Regions from separate parts of the Homo sapiens genome. Here region 2 is linked to region 1. The links are contacts of gene promoters, found by promoter capture Hi-C in human tissues and cell types (Jung and others, 2019). All regions are on one chromosome and are shown on one strand. Each heading gives the region's core, a stretch centred on a gene start or on the middle of the fragment in contact. The rest is flanking DNA. Distances are from core to core; before and after follow the strand shown. Region 1 holds the start of SHF (Src homology 2 domain containing F). Region 2 holds the start of SLC30A4 (solute carrier family 30 member 4).

Region 1 (5,517 bases), core at 2,527-5,026:
AAATAAACTTACATGACAAAAATGGGGAAATTATCATACAATGTTAAGTTAAAAAAGATATAAAATTATGTGTATACCACAATTATAGCTATATAAAACTAAGAATAAGAAAGACAAATTGTCTTTATCCATTTCAACGTTTGTTAAACCGATGCCATGTGACAGGCTCTGCACTTGGTGATGGGAGCACCCATGCTTCCTTACAGAATCCTGATACTATGGCGAACTGCTTAACATGCAAGAATTTGAATCTAGGCTGGGTGCAATGGCTCACACCTGTAATCCCAGCACTTTGGGAGGCCCAAGCGGGAGGATCACTTGAAGCCAGGAGTTTGAGACCAGTCAAAGCAACATAGCAAGAACTTCGTCTCTAGAAAATAAAATACAATAAATTAGCCAGGTATGGTAATGTGCACCTGTAGTACCAGTGCTTTGGGAGGCCGAGGTGGGAGGATTGCTTGAGGCCAGGAGTTCAAGACCAGTCTGAGCAACGTACTGAGGCCCCATCTTTACAAAAAATTAAAAATTAGTTGGGTGAGGCGGATCACACGCGGGAGGTTGAGGTAGGAGAATCGTTTGAGCCCAGAAGTTCAAGGCTGCAGTGAGCTATGATTGTGCCACTGCATTCCAGCCTGGGTAAGAGAGTGAGACCCCATCTCTAAAGGAAAGAAAAGGTAAACAGAATTTGGATCTAGAAAATTCCACCCAATTCTCAGAGGACCCTTGCTGTGATGGCCTCACCTCTGTATCCTTGGTTCCTATCAAGCTGCCTGACTCCATGAGGTGCTCAAACTGCCTGCTTTTAGGAGCTCATACTCTGGTAATGGAGGAAAGTACATTAGCAGATCTTTTAAAACAAGAGTAAGTGTATGGTGCACACAAGTTTTTATAATTTTAAAATTATTGTTTAAACCCTGCCTTTATGACATCTTCCCTCCTTCCCATCTTATTTTATTCCTACTCTTCCCATCATGAATACTCCCCTTTTTTATGGTGTGCGGGTTCCCACCTCTATGCCTTTGTCCAGCTAATGCCGACCTCCTGTCTTGGAATGACCTTTCACTCCTTTGCTTCATCTGTCCAAATCCTACCCAGCTCAGGTCTACCTCCTGTCCTGCATGAAGCCTGCAGACTTGATTGATTTCATTCCTCTGAGCTGTCAAGCAGTTTAACTCATGTCACACCTTCCACTGTAAGCATTTTACAGTTTTCAAACCTTTTTCATATTCATCACCTCCCTTAATCCTCACACAATGATTATCACGCCCTTTCCAGAGATCATGAAAGCAAGTATCAGTAGCATTGAGTACCTTCCCCAAATACCTGGCTACAGCCCACAACTATTGGATTTCTTATTAGTTACCTATCCATGCCCTCACACCTGGTGACTGTGGAGACTCTCTGATATACATTAACTGGACCATTCTTCTCTATTTATCATCTCTATGTCCAGCTTCGTTTTGCACCATTAGTCAATTTAACTGCACATTTTAAAAATATGCACGTTATTTTCTCTATTATACTTCATAAAACCAAGTTCAACATCAGATTCTCCAGTATCTCCTACAGTCCAGCTACTCAACATGTGGTCTGGGACCAGCAGTATCTGTATCACCTGGGACCCCACCCCAGCTAGACCTAGAGAGTCAGAATCTGTAACTTACCAAGATCCCCAGGAGATTAGTGTCCACATTAAAGTTTGAGAAGCACTGTCCTAAATACAAGCAGCACTGGCTTGATCAGAAGCACTGTCCTAAATACAAGCAGCACTGTCTGACCAGTGGCACAATCATAGCTCGCTGCAGCCTTGAACTTCTGGGCTCAAGCAATTCTCCCACCTCAACCTCCCAGGTACCTGGGACTACAAGCATGAGCCACCTCGCCCAACTAGAATTTGCACAAAGCAGGAACTCAACAAATATTTTGAGACTCGGGGCCCTGGGAATCCCAGGAGATTCACAGTTTTGCCATTACATCCTTCTTTACACCCCCCGCTTTGAACTCCTTTCCTTTGGGGCCTCTTGGCTTTTTGCGCCCTCAAAAGGCAGATATGGCCAGGTGCCGTTGGCTCACACCTGTAATCCCAGCATTTTGGAAGGCCGAGGTGGGGAATCACTTGAGGTCAGGAGTTCGAGACCAGCCTAGCCAACACGGTGAAACTCCATCTCTACTAAAAATACAAAAAATTAACCAGGTGTGGTGGCGCACGCTTGTAATCCCAGCTACTAGGGAGGCTGAGCTGGGAGCATTGCTTGAACCCGGGAGGTGGAGGTTGCTGTAAGCTGAAATCGTGCCACTGTACTCCAGCGACGGAGTGAGACTCCGTCTCAAAAAAAAAAAAAAAAAAAAAAAGGCAGACATGAACCTAGGAGTGCGGAGACACTGAGGCAGTGGGGGAAAGGGGGTGGGGTAAAGTGAGGTGAGACAGCTGCTTTCCCAGCAGAGCCAAGAGCAAATGTGTTGGTGTTGGCTTCAGGCCTACATTTATGGTGAGGAACTGGCTTTATTTCTTTCCTTTTCTTTTTTCTTTTTCTTTTTTTTTTTTTTTTGAGACGGAGTCTCACTCTGTCGCCCTGGCTGGAGTGCAGTCGCGCAATCTCAGCTCAATGCAACCTCTGCCTCCTGGGTTCAAGCGATTCTCCTGCCTCAGCCTCCCGAGTAGCTGGGACTACAGGTGCCCGCCACCACACCCGACTAATTTTTTTGTATTTTTGGTAGAGACGGGGTTTCACCGTGTTAGCCAGGATGGTCTCGATCTCCTGACCTCGTGATCCTCCCGTTTCGGCCTCCCAAAGTGCTGGGATTACAGGCGTGAGCCACCGCGCCCAGCCGGAACTGGCTTTATTTCTAAGACAAAAATGCCTAGCACTTGAGCATCTGAGCCTCAAGAGGATAAGGAGTTTGTGATAGACAACACTGGGACTGTTTCTAGACTTGATTTATTGACTTGTCTGTTTCCATTCTGTTACTAATCTGATTGACAATGAAGCCCGGGATGTGGCTGGAAGGGATTTCTGCGTGCGTGCGCATGCTATCGTCAGGGCCATGTGGGCCCGTTTGGAGCAGGTGCTCCCGTGGGTGGGGGATGTTTGAGCGAGGGCTGTTTGCGTGTGAGAAGGGCGTGTGTGAAAACGACACGGGAGAAGTGGGCGTCTCTAGGGAGTTGTTTGTATGTGATGTGAGATGTGTTTGCCTGGATCGGGAAGTAACGTAGGTTCGGGTATGTGCAGTGCGTACGGTTGGATGGGAGGAGGTTGTGGGGCTCCCAAGGTAGCACGGGAGGAGGAGGCTTACAGACACATCTTACAGAACCTAGCCCCTTTTCTTGCCCGCCTAGATTTTCCTCCTAGATTATAGTTTCCCAGTTGCGAGATCCTGGGAGAGGGAAGAGGAGAGGCGTAAGGCTCCCTAGAGTCAGGAGTCTGGGGGCTCCCCTCTTTGCGTCTCGCACGAGCTGGGAGCTGGGGAAAAGAACAGATGGGGATGGATGCGCTCCCCACAGGGGACCGCGTGGCGACACGTAAAGGATTCAACCTCAGTCCAGTAGTCGCATCCTCTGCCCCAGGGCTGCCCACTTCACTTCTTGCCTGTGCATACCGGCTGGAAGCCCGCGTACACTCTTCCGAGCTACGGGAGGAGGAAGACCCTGTTAGGGAGCGGAGCCCCGCCTCTCCCTTGTTACTGAAGCGCCCCGCCCCCTCCCCGCCCGGCGGAGCCCCGCCCCCCTCCCCACCCCCGCCCCCGCCCCCCACCCGCCGCTGCGCTCCCCTCGCTCAGTCTGGCTGGCCCCATGTTACTGAGCGGAGCTCCTCCGGCTGGCTCCCGCCCGGGGCCGCGAACGCAGGGGAGCGCTGGGGGCGGCCCGGGGGGGTCCCGCCGGGGCGCCGGGGGTGCGGGAGCCGGCCCAGGAGGGGGCGGCAGCGGCGGAGTAGCCAAGTGGCTCCGGGAGCACCTGGGCTTCCGCGGGGGGGGCGGCGGCGGAGGGGGCAGCAAGCCGGCGCCCCCCGAGCCCGACTACCGCCCCCCTGCGCCCTCTCCGGCCGCGCCCCCCGCGCCGCCCCCGGACATCCTGGCCGCCTACAGGCTGCAGCGGGAGCGCGACTTCGAAGACCCCTACTCCGGGGGGTCGTCCGGCTCCGCCGCCCTCGCCACCCCTGTCGCCCCCGGACCCACGCCGCCCCCGCGCCACGGCTCTCCCCCACACCGCCTTATTCGGGTCGAGACCCCGGGGCCCCCGGCGCCGCCTGCTGATGAGCGGATCTCCGGACCCCCCGCCAGCAGCGATAGGGTGAGTGCCGCGCCGGGCCGGGATGGCCAGGAGGGAAGGCGGTCAGGGGTCTGGAGGCTGCGAGAGGGACAAAGGTGGCCTGGCCCGGGCCCCTCGGTGTCTCAGCTTCTGGCAGACGCGAGCCCCTGACCCCGGGGTTCCGAGCCTTCACCCACCTTTGTTCAGATTCTCAACCGACTAATCTGAGACGGAAGCCCCAAACTCTGCCCCTCTGCCCTATCCTTTGTAATGGCCCCAGAACTGGTGACCCTCCCCCTCCCGGGCTGGCTCTCCACTTCGTAGCCCCCTCTAGCCTGATCCATGAGCCTTTTGCTAACGGGAATTGAGGCGCACCTCCCAACCCCCACTGGTTGATGGCCTTTCTGCCCCTCTGGAAGCAGCGGCTCAGTGCCCTTTGATCTCTGACCCTTCCCCCTGGGCATAGCCAGCACAAAGCTCTTCCCTCCTGTTGCCTCTTTGCTTCCTCCTCCTCTTCCTCCTCCTGTTTCTCCAGCCTAAGCATCCTTGCAGGTGCTGAAGCCCCAGAAAGGAGGTGAAGACGGGTTTCTCCTTGCGGACACAGCACGAGCTGGCCTTTGCCCTATAGGCTGTTGTTCTCAGGAGGCGAAGACAGGCAGCTTACAGCTCTTGCCAAGGGGGCTTCGTGGGGTCCAGGCCCACTCCTCCCTCCTTCCCTCGTCCTCTCAGGTATGAGGATAGTCAGTGCTCAGGACCTGTTGCCCACATGGGGCTAAGCAGCTGAGCCCATTCCTCCTCTCCTCCTGGCCTCCCTCTCCCCCTGGTCCATTCTGAGGGAGGCTGGAGCTTTTCCTGGGTCTGCAGGCACCAGGATAGGGAGGAGAACAGGAAATCCACCATGCCTCAGGGCCCTGCCCTGATTCGGGTTGGCCTTATCCCTCCCTGGCAGAGTGAGAGCTGAAAGCCATCCCAGGCCCCTAAATTCTGTGATGATGACTCTGTGGGCTGCCTTGGCTCTGCTGTCCTTCTTCACTCACCCCGAGAGCTCAGTTCTGGGGCCTGCCCCCTTCTCCTCAGCAGAGAAGAACATTTTTATTTGATTGGAGTGCAAAGTTGCTTTCCGAATCCGTTGGCTCCAGGATTGAGGCTTTTTAGCTGAGAGAGCGCCGTTCCGCCAGATTTCCTGGATGAGAGAGATCTGTCAGGGTCAGAGCAGAAGCCTCAGGAATGCAAATTATTTTTCCCCTAGTTTTTGCCATGGGGCATGGCTG
Region 2 (5,204 bases), core at 866-3,365, 330 kb before region 1:
GAGCCGATATCGCGCCATTGCACTCCAGCCTGGGCAACAAGAGTGAAACACCATCTAAAAATAAAAATAAATGAATAAAAAAGAAGAAATACCTTTCATAAGGCTATAGCTGCCATTGATTCCTCTGATGGACCTAGGTAAAGTAAATTGAAAAACTTCTGGAGAGGATTCAGCATTCCAGATGCCATTAAGAACATTCGTGATTCATGGGAGGTCAAAATATCAATATTAACAGGATTTTGGAAGAAGTGGATTCTAACCCTAATGGATGATTTTGAGGGATTCAAGACTTCAATGGAGGAAGTAACTGTAGATGTGGTGGAAATAGCAAGAGAACTAGAAGTGGAACCTGAAGATGTGACTGAATTGCTGCAATCTCATAAAATTTGAACAGATGAGGAGTTGCTTCTTATAGATAAGCAGAGAGAGTGGTTTCTTGAGATAGAATCTACTCCTTGTGAAGATGCTGTGAACACTGTTGAAATGGCAACAAAGGATTTGAATATTCCATAAACTTAGTTGATAAAGCAGAGGCAGGGTTTGAGAAAACTGGATTGACTCCAATTTTGAAAGGTCCACTGTGGGTAAAATATTATCAACCAGCATCACACGCCATCAAGAACTCTTTCATGAAAACAAGTCAATCAATATAGCAAATGTCATTGTTGTCTTATTTTAAGGAATTGCCACAGCCACCCCAACCTTCAGCAGCCACCATCCAGATCAGTCAGCAGCCATTAACAAGGAGCAAAGACCCTCCAACTAGCAAAGAATATGACTTGCTAAAGGCCTAGATGATTGATAGCTTTTTTTTTTTTTGAGACCGAGTTTTGCTCTTCTTGCCCAGGCTGGAGTGTAATGGCGTGATCTCGGCTCACCACAACCTTCGCCACCCGGGTTCAAGCGATTCTCCTGCCTCAGCCTCCCTAGTAGCTGGGATTACAGGCATGCGCCACCATGCCCAGCTAATTTTGTATTTTTAGTAGAGACAGGGTTTCTCCATTTTGGTCAGGCTGGTCTTGAACTCCCCATCTCAGGTGATCCGCCCGCCTCGGCTTCCCAAAGGGCCGGTATTACAGGCGTGAGCCACCACGCCCAGCTGATAGCATTTTTTTAGCAGTCATGTATTTTATTTACTTGTTTATTTTTAGAGACAAGGTCTCACTCTGTCGCCAGGCAGGGGTGCGGAGGCACAATCATAGCTCACTGTAATCTCGAACCTCTGGGCTCATGCGACCCTCCTTCCTCAGAGCAATTAACAAATGTATATATACTTTTTCCTTCCTCTCTCCCAATATTTTAAATTAAGGTATGCACATTGTTTTAGACATAACGCTATTACACGCTTAATAGACTACATTATAAACATGATTGTATTTGCACTGGGACATGAAACATTTGTGAGACCTCACTTTGTCATATTGCGGTGGTCTGGAACCAAATTCGCAGTATCTCCAAGGTATGCCTGTACTAGATTTTCTATGCTTGAGTTTAGTCCATATCGTAAATACCTTGGAGGCAAAAGGAACACGGCAGAGAGCACAAAGAGGACAATACATATTTGCTGAAAAACAGTAGGACACAGAACTGCTGACGACGACAGCCTTGCCCTCTCCAGTTGACTGCAGCAAATGTTGCCAATTTGCCAGAGACAAGCAATTCGAGGAGAGAAAAGCTGCTTGCCTTTTCAGTTAGCAAGAAAAGTGCTGGGTTTGTCTTCTGCCGAGCACCCGCAACCCAGATCCCGACCCGAGATTCCTGAGACACACTTTCGGTGGAGGGAACTCCTAGCAGCAACGCCCAGCCCCCGGCGTGACCCTCCGACCGCACTTGCCTCCCAGCCTGGGAAGGTGGAAGAGGCCGCCCAAAGTCCCCTCAGTTGGCCAGTGAGTGACCCCTGGGCGGAGGCGGCGCAGTGGCCCCCAATCCAGCCTCGGGGCGAGAGGCGGGGCGCGCCGCGCGCCCCCGCCCATCGCGGGCGCCCCAGCCCTGCGCGCCAGGCCTGCGTGTCCTCGCGCCGACCCCTCCCTCGCGCGCCTCGCCCGGCGCACGCGCGTGGCCTCGCGCAGGGCGGGGAGAGGCGGTGGCTGTGGGCGTCCGGCCCCGAACCTGTCAGACCTGGGGAGCCGGCCTCCAGCAGCGGGCGCGGCGGGCGCGAGCACGACCCCACTCTCCTGCGGCCGCGGGTGGAGCAGCGCGAGCCCGCCTCGCTGAGCCGGCCGGGGGCGGGGAGATGAGTTGCGGCCCCGCGGCAGCGCCCCAGGTATTAAATAGATGTGCCGCCCCCTCGCGGAGCCCCGGCGGAGCGTCGGGGTCGGCCCTGCGACCCGCCGCCAGCGGCTTCGGAACTTGAGGACAGGGTTGGGCGCCTTTAATTTATAACGTGTTTCGTTTTCCACAGGATGGGGAGGGACGCGCGGCACTGCCCTCGAGAACTGGCGCTCCGGTGAAGTAGGCGCCGCCGGCCGTCCGCCTCCCCCAAGCCGTTCCGCACCGCGGCCGCTCAGCCTCTGCCATGGCCGGCTCTGGCGCGTGGAAGCGCCTCAAATCTATGCTAAGGAAGGATGATGCGCCGCTGTTTTTAAATGACACCAGCGCCTTTGACTTCTCGGATGAGGCGGGGGACGAGGGGCTTTCTCGGTTCAACAAACTTCGAGTTGTGGTGGCCGATGACGGTTCCGAAGCCCCGGAAAGGCCTGTTAACGGGGCGCACCCGACCCTCCAGGCCGACGATGATTCCTTACTGGACCAAGACTTACCTTTGACCAACAGTCAGCTGAGTTTGAAGGTGGACTCCTGTGACAACTGCAGCAAACAGAGAGAGATACTGAAGCAGAGAAAGGTGAAAGCCAGGTTGACCATTGCTGCCGTTCTGTACTTGCTTTTCATGATTGGAGAACTTGTAGGTGAGTTGTGTTGCCAACTCACTTTCCGTTTACCTTTCCTCGAGAGTCTTTGTCAAGCTGTAGTTACACAGGCTTTGAGGTTTAACCCATCTTTTCAGGAAGTTTGTATTTATCAAGACACTGATCTCATGTGAAAAGGCCACACGGTTCCAAAGTGCAGCTCAATCTAAGTACAATATAAACTCCCCGAGATAACTTTGACTTTCTCTTCTAGTTGTTCAACCACTGTCATCTACCGTAAAGTTAAGGACGTTATCTTCATTGTATGTCATGTAACTTCCTCTTTTTACAAAGGTCTGGTAAAATACCAGGTTAATTTTCGCAACGTTTAAAATAGTAAATGATCGTAAATAACTTAAGATCATAGAATTTTACAGTATGAAGGGACCTTACTGAACACCTGCTCCACCTCCTTTTTTTTTTTACATGTAAGGATTTCCAGGGCACAAACCAGTGGAATAAGTCGTGAGGGCCACTTAGGGAGTTAATGGAAGAGCCACATCTACAGTCCCAGCATTTTTTTCCTCTACATTTGACCTAAGTGGTTTCTTTTATACGATTTCCTTTTGTATTTATAGCCAAGAGATTTGCAAAATTAATTACCAACTAACATGAAATTTTTGCCTCGTAAGAAGGGCCTGAAATGAACCAGAGGACTCCGCCAAAGTTCTATGAGCCTGGTTTTCTTGTTCATTTTTTAATTATACGAACAATCCGTTCTCAATATAAGATACATTCTTAGTTTAGAGGTTATTTTCAATCACGTCAGTATAACTACTAACTTCTCAGTGACAGTTTACAAAGTGACATAAAAGCAGGGAGATGATTCTTACATGTCATCTCTTAAATGATGAACCATGACAAAAACAGGTGGCAGTCCAGATTTAAGATGTTTGACTGGAGGGTTCTATGTGGGAAAAATTATATACATTTCCTACCTTCTTTCATAACACTCCTCCCCAGGGCTCGCTTCAGCCATGCTGGTCTTCTTTTTCCTCTTACAACTCACAAAGCTCTTTTTGCCTCTAAGGCGTTCAAAGTGGCTGGTCCTTCTATCTCAGTGGCTTTCAAACATTTTTTGACCTCACTGTAGTAAGAAATACACTTCACATTGTGACTCATTTAGGCATGCATGCATACATATGTATGAGAATATACACAGGTCACATGTGTATAAATATATGTATAACTGAAACAAAAGTTTTCCTTCATGTGATGTATCCTAATAGTTTCTTCAATTGTGGTCCCAGCTCACTAAATGGATTTCGTGTGTCCACTGCAGTAGGTCAGGGCCTTAGCTTGAAAAACACTGCTTTACATAGACTGCCTTTCCCAAATCTTTTCTTGGCCAGTTTCTTGTCATTCGTGTCTTATTTAAAAAGACACCCCGGCCGGGTGCAGTGGCTCACGCCTTTAATCCCAGCACTTTGGGAGGCCGAGGTGGGTGGATCACCTGAGGTCAGGAGTTTGAGACCACCCTGGCCAACATGGTGAAACCTTGTCTCTACTAAAAACAAAATACAAAAATTAGCCGGACGTTGTGGTGGGCGCCTGTAATCCCAGCTACTTGGGAGGCTAAAGCAGGAGAATCGCTTGAACCCGGGAGGCGGAAGTTGTGGTGAGCCGAGATTGCGCCACTGCACTCCAGCCTGGGCAACAGGGTGAGAATCCGTCTCAAAAAAAAATAAGTAAATAAAATAATAAATAAATAAATAAGTAATAAAAATTAAAAAAACCCACACTTTTGAGAGACCTTTTCTGACTGACTAAAGTAAATCTCTTTTGTTCCCTGTTCCCTCTCCAACTTTCAAAGTCCTCAGCATCTGAGATATCTTATTTATTTACTCATTTAATATTACCTGTTTCCACTGAAATACAGGCTGAATTCCTAGCACCTAGAACAGTGACTGGCACAAAGTAGATACTCAATAAACTTGTTGAATTAATTCATTTTTATTCTGTTAGATAATTATAAATGCTTGAGCTGTAAAGAAATTAAAAGACAGGAGACAACCTGTGCCCCAGATAAAGCACCATGGTCTCAGCAGACTGAGATTCGGTGACTTGCCCAAACTAACACAACTAGAATATTGAGTCATTCAGGTTTAATGATTTTTGAAGTTAACGTTGAATATTTGAAGTTAAAATAACAATCACAGCATCCCCCCTTAAAATGATTAATAATTCAGAGTTTATTTCACCTAAGTAAAAATCATTAAGATATAATTGTCTTGACTTCTCACTTCTGAAATCTGTTATTTGGTAAATGTTGTTTTATGAAAGCCACAATAAGTATTT

Evidence for each region. The method cuts DNA at HindIII sites, captures the fragments that hold promoters and counts their contacts. A contact is called where the count stands out against the background at its distance.
Region 2: a contact is called between the fragment with the promoter of SLC30A4 here and the fragment with the promoter of SHF in region 1, in 1 of the 25 tissues and cell types used here (dorsolateral prefrontal cortex).

Annotation. Positions count from the first base shown.
Region 1 is chr15:45,186,225-45,191,741 of GRCh38, reverse strand. It overlaps SHF (Src homology 2 domain containing F), which reads left to right and starts at 3,776. Exons shown (of 7, transcript NM_001394037.1): 1 at 3,776-4,288. The coding sequence starts at 3,791. It overlaps LOC124903481 (a long non-coding RNA gene), which reads right to left. Exons shown (of 2, transcript XR_007064608.1): 1 at 5,284-5,517; 2 at 2,924-3,627. RefSeq lists a silencer at 3,832-3,881 and an enhancer at 4,796-5,348. The HindIII fragment of the contact is 29,845 bases long and covers 1-5,517 here.
Region 2 is chr15:45,519,666-45,524,869 of GRCh38, reverse strand. SLC30A4 (solute carrier family 30 member 4) reads left to right here and starts at 2,115. Exons shown (of 8, transcript NM_013309.6): 1 at 2,115-2,263; 2 at 2,402-2,906. The coding sequence starts at 2,516. It also overlaps the pseudogene HMGN2P46. RefSeq lists a silencer at 1,923-2,412. The HindIII fragment of the contact is 11,317 bases long and covers 1-5,204 here.